Regions from separate parts of the Homo sapiens genome. Here region 2 is linked to region 1. The links are contacts of gene promoters, found by promoter capture Hi-C in blood cells and fetal thymus (Javierre and others, 2016). All regions are on one chromosome and are shown on one strand. The core of a region is centred on a gene start or on the middle of the fragment in contact, and the rest is flanking DNA. Distances in the headings are between cores, read along the strand shown.

Region 1 (6,158 bases), core at 1,504-4,003:
GGTGGATCACCTGAGGTCAGGAGTTTGAGACTAGGCTGACCAACAAGGTGAAACGCCGTTTCTACTAAAAATACAAAAATTAGCCAGGTGTGTTGGCAGGCACCTGTAGTCCCAGCTACTCGGGAGGCTGAGACAGGAGAATTGCTTGAACCCAGAAGGCGGAGGTTGCAGTGAGCCGAGATCGCACCAATGCACTCCAGCCTAGGCGATGGAGCAAGACTCCGTCTCAAAAAAAAAAAAAAAAAAAAGAAAAAAGAAAAACAAGATGGTTATTAATTTTAGATGTAAGAAAACATTGGGCAATAAAGAAAAAGCAATCATAGTATAGAAAACAGGTCAATTATAAAACAGCATTTATGCAACAAAAATTCCAAGGGACTGATGAATTATTTCCTTTTATAGACTTCCTCATAATATATAGCTTCCCTATTTTTGTAATGTAGAGGTTTTCACAGAAGGTATTTACCAGAATAGCATCTAAAATTACGAGGACATTTATTTTAACATGGTTTGGCCTAGGTCATTTTACAGACTAGACAGTAAAAAATCTCAGCTTATCTATAAACTTCTGATCTGTGTGACCTGGGGTAGGTTACTTAATTTTGCTGACCCTTACAAAGTATGAGGATTGCAAATACAACACACAGAGTGCCTGGCACATAGTAGGCATTCATAAATGACCACTTTTGTCAGCCACCTTAATGGAAGAATGCTGGATAGGGATATTATAAAACCACAAGGAATACAACTTTGACCTCAATTTAGGTGGGTAGTTGAGCATCTGGAAGTCATGAGGTGTTGAAGCCTGACACTATTATAAAAGTAAACACTTCTCAGACTAAGCAAATATGATATGGAACTGACAACAAAATTGAGGGGAAAATGCTCTGAGGAAGATGACTGAAAGAATAAAGTACAGAGTAAAATGGCTTTCAGAGGGGCCAAGAGCAGTATACAGCTCTCCTTTAGAACAGTAACATAAAGACTCAGCTTCTCCTGGGGGTCTCCATCCTGCTTTGTGCCACAGAAAGTGTAGGACTACTGGGGAGGGTTCTGGTTCCTTTCTTAAGTATATAAACAACAAAATCAAAAGTTTTATTTTATTTATTTATTTATTTATTTAGTGACAGGGTCTTGCTCTGTCATCCAGGCTGGATTGCAGTGGCATGATCACAGTTCACTGCAGCCTCGACCTCCTGGACTCAGGTGATCCTCCCACCTCAGCCTCCTAAATAGCTGGGACTATAGGCACACACCACCACGCTTGGCTAATTTTTTGTAGAGCCGGGGTTTCGCCATGTTGCCCAGGCTGGTCAAGAACTCCTGGGCTTAAGCAATCTGCCTGCCTTGGCCTCCCAAAGCGCTGGCATTACAGGTGACAAAGAATTTTAGCTCCAAGAGTTCTTTAGGCCCATCACTTCTAGAGGTTGGTCAGATATTAATGGTGTGAAAGGTAAAGAAAGTCATTGATAACAATTAACATGTGGTAAGCGCTTAAGATTTGCCAGTCGTTATTCTAAGCCATTTTACATGAATCATCCCGTTTAATCTCAATAACAACTCTAAGTTCTTTTATCCTCATTTGACAGATAAGGAAACTGAGACTCACGGAGGTTAAGTAAATTGCCTAAGGTTACACAGCCAGTAAACTCGAAGAGCTAGACCTGAACTCAGATTTGCCAGCCTCCAAAGGCTTCCAGACTTCTAACCGTAATGCTAATATATAGCAAATAGTCTTTAGTTGTGGATTTTCTCACTAGCATAACAGCATTGATCAGGCCATATTCTAGCAAGTGATTTTCAAATATGAAGTGACAGAGATAACATACAAAGGCCAGGCAATTTTAAGCAAATGCTCTTACAGGTGTACTAGGACAGAGCCTTAAAACCAATGACTCCTTCTAAACATGGAGTTCAGACATTCAAATACCTTTACCTAGTAAAGTTCTAATAGAAAAGGAGTTATTTTAGGGCTAGTATAAGTCCATCCATGTATTCCCAGTGTCAACTGTGCTCGACGTAGTAAGTGTGGAATCAATGTCTAGTGACCGGTTAGATGACCCGCATAGTGGATCTTTTCAAATCTCACATGGAGGATCTCATACAAAAACATTAAGAACATTAAAGCAAGCCCTGACAATAATTTTTAAAAAATAACAGTCTATTTCCAGGGTAAACAATTACTTTGTCACGCCGCTGCTTAGGGGCTCGGAGAACCTGCTTCTGATGTGGGTCCAGGTTGAGGAACACTTCGCCACTTGAGAACGCAAATAAAGTCCAGAAATCCAGGACCACAGCAATACTCCAGCCCAGGGTTGCAGGGCAGCCTCTTTACCAGCCGGGCGACCCATTTCTATCTTGGCGCCGGCGAAGCGCCGGTTTGGGCGGGGGACCGCTCTCAGCCTGAACAGTGGGTGGGCCGGCAATGACAATGCAGGAATTCCGCGCAGGCCGCAGGGTTTGGGGACCTGTCTGAAGGGTGGGAGGGAGCACTTTTCACCTGACACACCCAACCCCCCTGCCGCAGCCCAGGGCCGCGGATGAGCGGAAGGAAAGCACTTCCATACTGTCAGATCACTGGGCTTCAGTTGCAGCATAGCGGCCCACCCCGCCGCCCGCGTACGCTCAGCCCCTCAGCGCCGGCCAGGCAGCCACGCACGCGCAGTCCGTTCTCGCTCGCTCCATCAGTCCTGGCCCGGCCCGGGGCCCCGCCCCCGCAGGCCCCGCCCCGCTCCCGTGCGCTGAACGCCCCATATCCGGGTTCCCGCCGCCTCCACCGCCACCGCCTCAGCCGCCTCGCACATTTAGTCTTGCCGGGAGTGGTGTGATTCCCGACCAAGATGGCGGCCGTGGGGCGAGTCGGCTCCTTCGGTTCTTCTCCGCCGGGATTATCCTCGACTTACACTGGCGGCCCCTTGGGCAACGAGATAGCGTCGGGCAACGGTGGCGCCGCGGCAGGCGACGACGAGGACGGGCAGAACCTTTGGTAACGACTCCACCTCTCCCTCAGCCCCCGCTGGCTCCCCCGGCCTTGCGCGGACGCCTCGGGATCCCGTGCCCGCTGGAGCTCGGCGCCGGGCCCGGCCACTGCGTTCCCGGCAGCCCCATCCCCGGCGCGCCGAGGCCGGGTCCGTCCCTCCCGCGCTGCGGCTCCGGCCTCCGGCCTCACCGTACGCCTTGCTTCCCGTTAGGTCCTGCATCCTCAGCGAGGTCTCCACCCGCTCGCGCTCCAAGCTCCCTGCGGGGAAGAACGTGCTACTGCTGGGTAAGTGTTCCCTGCCTCGCCCCGCCCCGCCCGGCCCCCAGCGGCCCGGGGTACCTGGTCCGCGGGCTAGCTCGCTGGCTCTCTTTGTGCGGACAGCCGGCCCAGCCCCGCCCCGCCTCGCCTCCCGACCTGTCGCGGATGGCTGGGAGAGAAGGGGAACACGAGACCCTTGACCCAGGACCTGCGGGGACCCGCCCTCCCTCAGGTTCCTCCTCCTCCTCCCCGGTATATGGGGGTGGCCCTGACAGCTTCCCCTGGGAAGGACAGAATTCGATCGCTCATCTGAGGGATTCTCGTGGCCTGGGGTTTATCTAGAAAATGACAGGTTTTCTTTCATCACAAAAATTGGTAGCAGGAGGCTCTTTGCGAGAGCTGCAGCGCAAATGGCATGCCATTAATATTTAATAGCTGACTCTTTGTATAATTGACAGAAGCTAGAACTAAGACCTGGCGATAAATGTTCTTGATTCAGCGTTCTCTGGTACAATGTGCTCGTGTTGCAGCTACCTTAACTGTCACATATAATTCTGAAATTTGTAAAGGGCAGTAGAACACAACTTTCTAGTTAAGTCTTTTCAGCCAAATGGATGTAATAAGGAGAAACGGTCCAGTGTCAGTTCTCCTGATTGTTCTGTATCTCCTCGGCTCTCTGGAAGTTGTGTATTCTGTTTCTTTAGTGACTCTGGGGGTGGGGATAGAGGACTGAGGGAGAATAGTTCGCAGATTCGCATTTTTCTAGGCTTAGCTCCTGAATCATTTATAGGAGAAATTTCTCTATATAGCTCTTTACATGCGAGATAACTGAAGTTTGGCTTATACGATGATTAAATTTAAAAACTTTGGTATTTGGTGTCGGCTCAATACCAGAGTTTTTTGTTGTTGTTGTTGTTGTTTTGGTTATATCCATCTAAAAACAGGAAACAAGAAGTCAAATACTACTTGATAGGCTGCGTGGTTAAATATGAATGTTTACATAGAAAAAATTACTTTTTTAATAGACTGCTGCCAAGCAAGAATATATGATTATTGATATTCTTTAAAGCTACATGGAGCTAGTTGAAAAATTAGTTTTTACCCTTGTTTTTAATGTGGTTGAAAGCACCTACTGAAGATTAGCCTGGATTGAGTCACTGCCCTATCACATATAAGCCCTAGGATCTTAAGCAAGTTGCTTGACATCTATAAACCTCAGTTTCTTCATCTTTAAAATGGTTGTTATAGAAATAATAATACTTGCCTCTAGGGTTGTGGCGGGAATCAAATGAGTTAATGTTTGTATCGTGGTAATATTTGCAAGTGATACTTTGTCATGGATTTATCTTAAACTGCATTAGAAAATATTTGTGATCAGAACTTTTTAAAAAATTGAATTAGTGCCTACATAAGTGATATTCATAGGGCAAAAATAAATTAGGATCCAAAAGCAAAAAAAAATTGTATAATATATTTTTAGTTTACTAATTTAAACAAATTACTACTCATTTCTAAGGTAAAATGGATTTAAGCTCATATGACCTCATTGAAATTGATTCTATTTTAATTAAATATTTGGAAACACTGTCATGGTAAAGGTAAGATTCAGTAGTTTTGTTCTTATTTTATACATTTTGTCCAGTTATTTCTGCACATTAGATATTGTGTAGATGATTCTGTTTATGGTAAAACAAAAGTGGCAGTTTTGTTCATTTTTTGGTATACCTAATTTGCACTGAGGTTGTGCCATTTTTTTTTTAACACCCCTTTGACACTGGGTCTGTGCATGGGACTGAGTGTTCTTAGAGGTCCCAGCCTCCTTCACTCCACCATACAAGAATAGATTAAATTTCCTTTTTTATGAACTTAATAGTTCATAAAGTGCATCTAATATCAGGTAATATGAGCTTGAAATTTAATATTTTTCTTTCAGTACTATTGGGATTTTCATCAGAGAGTCCTTTTCAGCTTTGGAAGGAGCTAATAACTGATTTGTATACTGGTTACAAAAATAGAGTTAACTTTCTAAAATACCCCTGAAGATTTCTTACAGACATTTCACCGTCACATATGGCAGCATTCACTCTGTGCTGGTGGAGGAAAGAAATACCAAATAGGGATTGTGGTTTTCTTTGTTATGAGTTTGAAGGTGCTAGGCAGGAGGATGCTTGACCCTAATACATCTTTCATGAATGCAAGTGGTCTCTGGAGTCTCTTATTTAAAAAAACAAATCTAAGGCCAGGCACAGTGGCCCACGCCTGTAATCCCAGCATTTTGGGAGGCCGAGGGGTGGATCGTTTGAGCTCAGGAGTTGGAGACCAGCCTGGGTAGTATGGTGAAACCCCATGTCTACAAAAAATAAAAAAATTGGCCTGGCACGGCAGCTCCTGCCTGTAATCCCAGACTTTAGGAGGCCTAGGTGAGCGGATCACCTGAAGTTAGGAGTTAGAGACCAGCCTGGTCAATATGGTGAAACCCCATCTCTACTACAAATACAAAAATTAGCTGGGCATGGTGGCACACACCTGTAATCCCAGTTACTCGGGAGGCTGAGGCAGGAGAATTGCTTGAGCCCGGGAGGCGGAGGTTGCAGTGAGCCAAGATCGTGCCACTGCACTCCAGCCTGGGTGACAGAGCGAGACTCTGTCTCAAAAAAAAAAAAAAAAAAGGCCGGGTATGATGGTGCATGCCTGTAGTCTCAGCTACTCAGGAGGCTAAGGTGGAGGGACAACTTGAGCCCTGGAGGCAGAAGTTGCAGTGAGCTGAGATTACGCCATTGCACTCCAGCCTGGGCAACAGAGTGAGACCCTGTCTCAAAATAATAATAATAATAATAATAAATAAAATAAAAAACCAAATCTGAGCCTATGACAAGGCTTTACATTTCAGAAACAACCTAGAATAGGAACAATGATATAG
Region 2 (6,500 bases), core at 2,303-4,802, 200 kb after region 1:
TTCTACTAAAAACTCCTTGTAAACAGTTTTCAGTGCCACTGATATTTTTGTGTGCACAACTTTTCTCCATCACGTATTTTTAGAAAGACAACATGTTAACTGATCTTCGATTTAATGACCAATCTAGCAACCACGGTTCAGCACAGCTTGAGAAGTGTATCTGTTAAAAATACAAAGTGGAGTCATTAATAATGGTGTTAGCCGATTCTGATTCTGAATAATCTTGGGAGGGGATATTGGGAGTACATTAATTTCTAAAGGCTCATTGAGTAGATGTAAGTACTTACTTCGGCTTTCTCCTACTGTTAGGGTTTTAGGCTGACTCCAGTTGTTTTCCCTGGATTAAAGACAGGATTAACATTTTTGTGCATGAATCTTAAACTCCTAAGAGATACATCCCCAAATCAAGGGAACAAACATATATACGGCTTTTCATATATAATGCCAAATAGATTTCTGGAAATGTACTACCTTATCCCCACACCTTGCAGTTTTCACCTGGTTCCTTTCCTCACAGTCCAGATGTTTTCAGTAAACTAGGCTGGAGGAGTTGGGACGGAGTGAGAAAATCTCAGTGCCAGCCCAAGCTATTCTAACTGAGTAACCATGGGCAAGTCATTGACAACTCAGTGGAGCCTCCATTGTCTCTACGAGATAAATGGAGCGATGGACACCTGCCTAATGTAAGGCAAAGATTTTTTTTTTTTTTTTTTGAGATGGAATCTTGCTGTGTTACCCAGGCTGGAGTGCAGTGGCACGATCTTGGCCTACTGCAACCTCCGCCTCCCGGGTTCAAGAGATTCTTCTGCCTCAGCCTCCCGAGTAGCTGGGATTACAGGCGCCCAACACCATGCCCGGCTGATTTTTTGTATTTTTAGTAGAGATGGGGTTTCACCATGTTGGCCAGGCTGGTCTCGAACTCCAGACCTCAGGTAATCCAACCGCCTCGGCCTCCCAAACTGCTGGGATTTACGTGAGCCACTGCGCCCGGCCAGGGCAAAGATTGAGGATCAACTAATATTATGTGTGAAACTCAAGTATAAAGTTGTAGGTCGAATTGTATGAAATTGCCATTTTTGTAGGACAGAGTCTAATAGTGACCATTTCACATGGCTAAACCTAGTACCGTATCATTAAATGGTTGGAGGTTATTAGGCCCCACAGCTCATAAACAGTCATTTCTATGTTCTAGAAACCTATGTACTGGTTGTGTGTTTTCCCAGGTACCCAGTTCATTAGCCACCTGGTAGCTGCTATTTATCAAGCACTGTTCTGACAATCATTTCTGGGTAACACAGATGCATCAGCTCTTCACTTCCAGGTCCCTGCTGGCCTCATCACCCAGCTGTAGCCTCCTGCATCTCCTGGCAGTCTCCCATCCCCACAGCTCTCATTTCACAGACCTCTCTTAAGCTTGCCCTCTCTATTGGTTTACCTCTATTGTCTTCTAACTCACCCTTCACGGTGTTCTAGGACTCTTCATTAACTTCCCAGTCTTTTCACTACAGTAGACATTTAATTGAACACATACTACATTCCAGGCACTGTGCTGAGCTCCAGAGGGAAGACGGGGATGAAACCTCACCTTCCCAACTCTCCAAAAGATCACAAACCAGATGGGATATAGGAGGTAATAAACAATTCAACAGCATGGCAGATGGGAGAAGGGCAAGAGTGGACATTTTTAAATATTCCACTTTTTTTCTTTTAAAATCAACTTTATCAAGCTATAATGTATATTAAAATACACCCATTTTACGTGAATAGTTTGTGAGTTTTGACAAATGTATACACCCATGCAATCCCCACCACAATCAAGATGTAGAATATTCCTGTCACCTCAGAACATCTCCGTGTGCCTCTTTGTAAGCCAACTGCTCCAGCCCTATTTCCAGGCAACCACTGATCTGCTTCCTGTCACTATAGCTTTGTTTTGCCTTTTCTAGGGTTTCATATAAATAGAATCAAATGATTTTTTTTGGTCTGGCTTCTTTTATTCAGCATAACGTTTTGGTGATTCATCCACATTGTTGCCTATATCAGTAGTTTGTTCCCTTTTATTGCTGAGCAGTATTCCATTGTAGAGATACACAATGTATTCATTCACCATTTGATAGCCATTTGGGTTGTTTCCAGTTTGGGGCAACTATGAATACAGCTGCTATGCATATTCTTGCTCAATATTTTTGTGGATATATTTCTCATGGGTGGATATCTAGGACTGGAATTGCTGGGTTACAAGTATTGTTTAACTTTGTAAGTAATTATACCATTTTACACTCCCACCAGCGGTGTATAAAAATTCCAGATGCTGCATAACCTCGCCAACACCTGGTATTTTTTTTTTTTAATTTACCCCTTCTAGAGGGTGTGAAGTAGTATCTCATTGTGGATTTAATTGCACCATATGTGATATCTAAGTTCTTTTTCCTAAATGCCAAGAGTTTAGGTCTAGTCCTCATTCTCAACGTTCTTTGGCACTTAATGCTCAACTTACCTAGAGAGAGAGAAGCCACCTCTCCAGTGACTATTTGCCTTTACGACAACACGGTGGAATTCTCCTAAGTTAAAATGGCTGGAGGCCAGATGGTTCATGTTCCTCCTCCACACTCAGCTTTCCTATTGCAATGGCCAAAGATAGGTCATGCGGTACTCCTTTGAGTACCCATCCTCCCAGCTCTTTCTTTTTCTAGGATTTTCCCACGCTATTGCCACCTTCAGCAATAACTTTAGGAAGGCCCGAGTCACTGTCAAATGGGCTTTCAAAATTTCCCTTTTTCTACCCTTCTACTGCTAAATAGCATTGGTGCTAAAGTTGGCTCCTCTCATCATCACTACCGTCTATACAGGCCCTTGTGGTGACTTGCTTGAAAGGTGTTTGCCAGGATGTCCTGAGTAATGGTTATGATGCCTGTTGTTGCAAGTAATGGAAATTAGTTTAAGTGGGCAGAATTGCTCATGTAATTGCAAAGTCAGAGCTTGGTAGCATTCAGGGCTGAATTGATTCAATGGTTCAATGATGTTATCATTGATGAAGTTTCTTTCCACCTCTTAACTCTTCGTTACTGTTAGCCTATGACTGGCTCCCCCTTGTGGTCACAAAATTTTTACAAACGACTTCCTGGCTACATATTTTCTCACCCAAGGAGAGGACTGTTGCTTCTAAGAGTTCCATCAAAAGAGCTGCAGGCCAGGGGCAGTGGCTCTCATCTGTAATCCTAGCGCTTTGGGAGGCAGAGGCAGGTGGATCGCTTGAGCCTGAGAGGTTGAGACCAGCGAAACCCTGTTTCTACAGAAAATACAAAATTAGCCAGGCGTGGTGACACATGCCTGTAGCCCCAGCTAGTCGGGAAGCTGAGGTGGGAGGATCATCTGAGTCCCGGGAAGTCTAGGCTTCAATGAGCCGTGATTCTGCCACTGCAACTCCAGCCTGGGTGACAGAGTGAGACCCTGTCTCAAAAGAAGAAGAAGAAGAAGAAGAAAAAAAAGAGTAAGCACGGATTTAATAATTCCACAATGTATACAAAAATCAAAACATCACATTGTGGCCAGGCACAGCTCATGCCTGTAATCCCAGCACTTTGGGAGGCTGAGGCACAAAGATCGTTTAAGCTCAGGAGTTCGAGACCAGCCTGGGCAATGTAGTGACACCTCATGTCTATGAAAAAAATAAAAAATTAACCAGGTGTGGTTGGTTGGTAGTAGACGACTGTGGTCTCAGTGGTCCCAGCTAGGCTGAGGTGAGAGGATTGCTTGAGCCCTGGAGGTTGAGGCTGCAGTGAGCCTATTATTGTGCCACTGTACTCTGGGTAACAGAGTGAGACCCTGTCTCAAAAAATATAAATAAATAAATAAAAAGTAAGAAAACCCCCCAAAGCCACATAACATTATAACCACAAAATACATGCAATTATTGTCAATTAAAACATTAAAAAAAGAAGGGAAATCATTTATTGAGCACCAATTGTGTGCCAGGTGCTTTAAATACATAATACATTAACACCAGCAGTTAATATGCTTGCTCTCCACACTTGCTAGCTAGATGACTTTTATAACATTTTATAAAATTGCTTAACCTCTTTGTACCTCAGTTTCCTCCTCTGTAAAGTGAGGATAATCTAGTATCTACTGCGCAGGGTTCCCCTTCTGAGAGTTAAATGAGATAATAGATGGAAAGCCCTTTAGTACAGTGCCTGGCATAAAGGGTCAATGTATATTAGATAACACACACGTACACAGCATGCCTCTTTCCCAGAACTCCCAAGCAAGCCGTGGGTCACATGACCATCTCTGAACCAATCACTGTGGTGGAGGAGGAGGGTGGTCTCATGCTGATGAGCTGAGGCAGAGCCGTAGGCTCCATTCCTAGAGTCCTAATGGAGTCGGCCTCTCACAAAACACTGGGGCTATAAGAGGGTGGTCTGGATACTGAATAAAAACTAGGGCAGTTTGAGAATATGAGGAGGAAGAAAAGATGCTGGGGAGGCAGCCACAAGGTTCCCTATGCCCTGGGTTCATTTAGCTATTCTGAATATTCTAGCAAAAACAATTCTGCCATAGATAGGAAAGTTTTCTCAAAACATATCTTCCAGATGGAATATCTTTTTAATCAGCACCTTTCTTCCCACTTACCTTCCTAAGTTTCTGAAAAGTCATCACTCTGTGATGCCAAGCACTTTCTCCCAAACCCTATCTTCTTTTACATATACCAAGAACCCAAGTTTATATACCCCCCAACTTATAACAACATGCATTATAATCTTCCCCATTATTCTAGGTCATCATCAACACTGGAAGTTATCTTACCTTCCTTCACAGCTGTCTGCTTACGATTCACATTTGGCAGCAGATGTTGCCAGCAGAACATTAATGTGCAGCCAAGTTAACAAACGCTCAGGCTGCCACCTTTCAGAGTGTGTGTGCTTGTGTGTGTGCGCGCATGTGCTTGCATGTATCATATGTCCAGATTTTTTTCGGTGAAAATTTATCTTTTCAATTAAATTTCAATAAAACCAATTTTTTCTGTGAAAACTCATCTTTTCAAAATAATAATTGTCTAGAAAACAAAAATATGGACTTTAAGTTGATTTTCTACCCAGGGCTGCATCTTCAGTTAGCATTTCTAAACGTCTACCTTCTATTACAGAGATATTTCATGTATTTATAATCTTTTGTGTGCTGATGCCCCGAAGGGATTTTCCTATGAAGGGAGCAACTTAAAAATAAAAAATAAATACTGATATCGAACATCCTCTTCTCTAGATTTTCTTGTAGTTTTCAAAGGTTGGCCAAATATTTATCTTTTGGGAGCAGTAAGTTGGAAATAGCAATAAAGAGAGATTAATTGCCTAAAGCACTTTATTGATTTGCCATGAGTGGGTAAATATATCAAGTTAAAAACTCACTCTGCTCCACCAAAGAGGACGTGAAGGTTTTGGAATGGCTGAGAGGTGAATGCAGATGGCAAGCGCAGATGGCAGAGATGAGTTTAAGTACCTTGTACACTATCCCTGTAATAATATTTTTCAAGCCCCCAGAAACCTATTTTTATGTTGACTGTATTGTGTGTGGCTTTGTTTTCTCTTGTTTTTTAAGAGAAAAAAATTAAAGCAAACCCAATTCACAACTTACAGCTCCAATCTGAACAACAGAGAATCATTTTGTTGTCTAAAAACCTACACTTAAAGCTTATTCATGAACGAAGTCTCAGTATTCAAAAGATGAAATAATAATTTCTTTTCAGTGAAAAATAAATGCTTTTTGCTGTTATTGTTTTAGTGAACTCTCAGGGTAACATAAAGGATCATGCTTCTGAAGAAACACCAATAAAGACAAGACAGCAAGTGCCCCTGCATGGACACAAACTAGGCATTGCTCTTTTGAAACAGATGCCTTTGGTGCTACCAGTTCAAGAAAGAACTAAAATTACAGTCTACTTGAAGGACATTTCAGAGTGTGGTTTACGGCACTTTTCACCCCAGAAGTTACGTTCTATAAATGTGGCCGTGATTATAGAAATGACACACACATGCTTGCGTGGAGCATAAAAGCAGGCTTCTTTCTGTTTCCAGAAGCAGGCCTCTGTAGGTTACTGTTTTTTCTGACTTTTATGGAGTGTTGTTTGCAACATAAAGTACTTGAAAAACCCACAGGGTATGTGGAAGGTGCACATGCTTTGGTGAGTGTGAGAGGGAGAGCTGGACGGAAGGGCAGAGCATGCCAACTGTGACTAGTTATTTCAGCTTTTCTGCAAAATCAGTGATGACTGGGAATCAGCTCCCCAAAGATCACATCACCAGTTGCCTACAGGTCTGTGTTATGGAAGTTCAGCCTTCCATGGCTTGCTACATTTTGGGCACAGAGTGGCCTTGTGTGCCCCCCGACACCACCTGCTCACACATCCATACCCTACACTCACCTCTCATTTTTGGAGCTTCCTTCCCCACTACCTCTTTGGGCGGGCCTAGTCCACAACCCCAGAACATTCTTCATTGGTACTT

What was found. The method cuts DNA at HindIII sites, captures the fragments that hold promoters and counts their contacts. A CHiCAGO score of 5 or more calls a contact.
Region 2: a contact is called between a fragment that was not itself captured here and the fragment with the promoter of DYNC1LI1 in region 1, in 1 of 17 cell types (neutrophils). The highest score is 5.3, in neutrophils.

Annotation. Positions count from the first base shown.
Region 1 is chr3:32,567,453-32,573,610 of GRCh38, reverse strand. It overlaps DYNC1LI1 (dynein cytoplasmic 1 light intermediate chain 1), which reads left to right and starts at 2,753. Exons shown (of 13, transcript NM_016141.4): 1 at 2,753-2,986; 2 at 3,192-3,265. The coding sequence starts at 2,841. RefSeq lists silencers at 2,556-2,815, 2,996-3,485 and an enhancer at 2,760-3,545. The HindIII fragment of the contact is 15,701 bases long and covers 1-6,158 here.
Region 2 is chr3:32,371,835-32,378,334 of GRCh38, reverse strand. It overlaps LOC124909361 (a long non-coding RNA gene), which reads right to left. Exons shown (of 2, transcript XR_007095859.1): 1 at 288-6,500; 2 at 1-160. Among named protein-coding and RNA genes, the nearest start is that of CMTM7, 17 kb to the left of the region's middle. The HindIII fragment of the contact is 4,274 bases long and covers 1,416-5,689 here.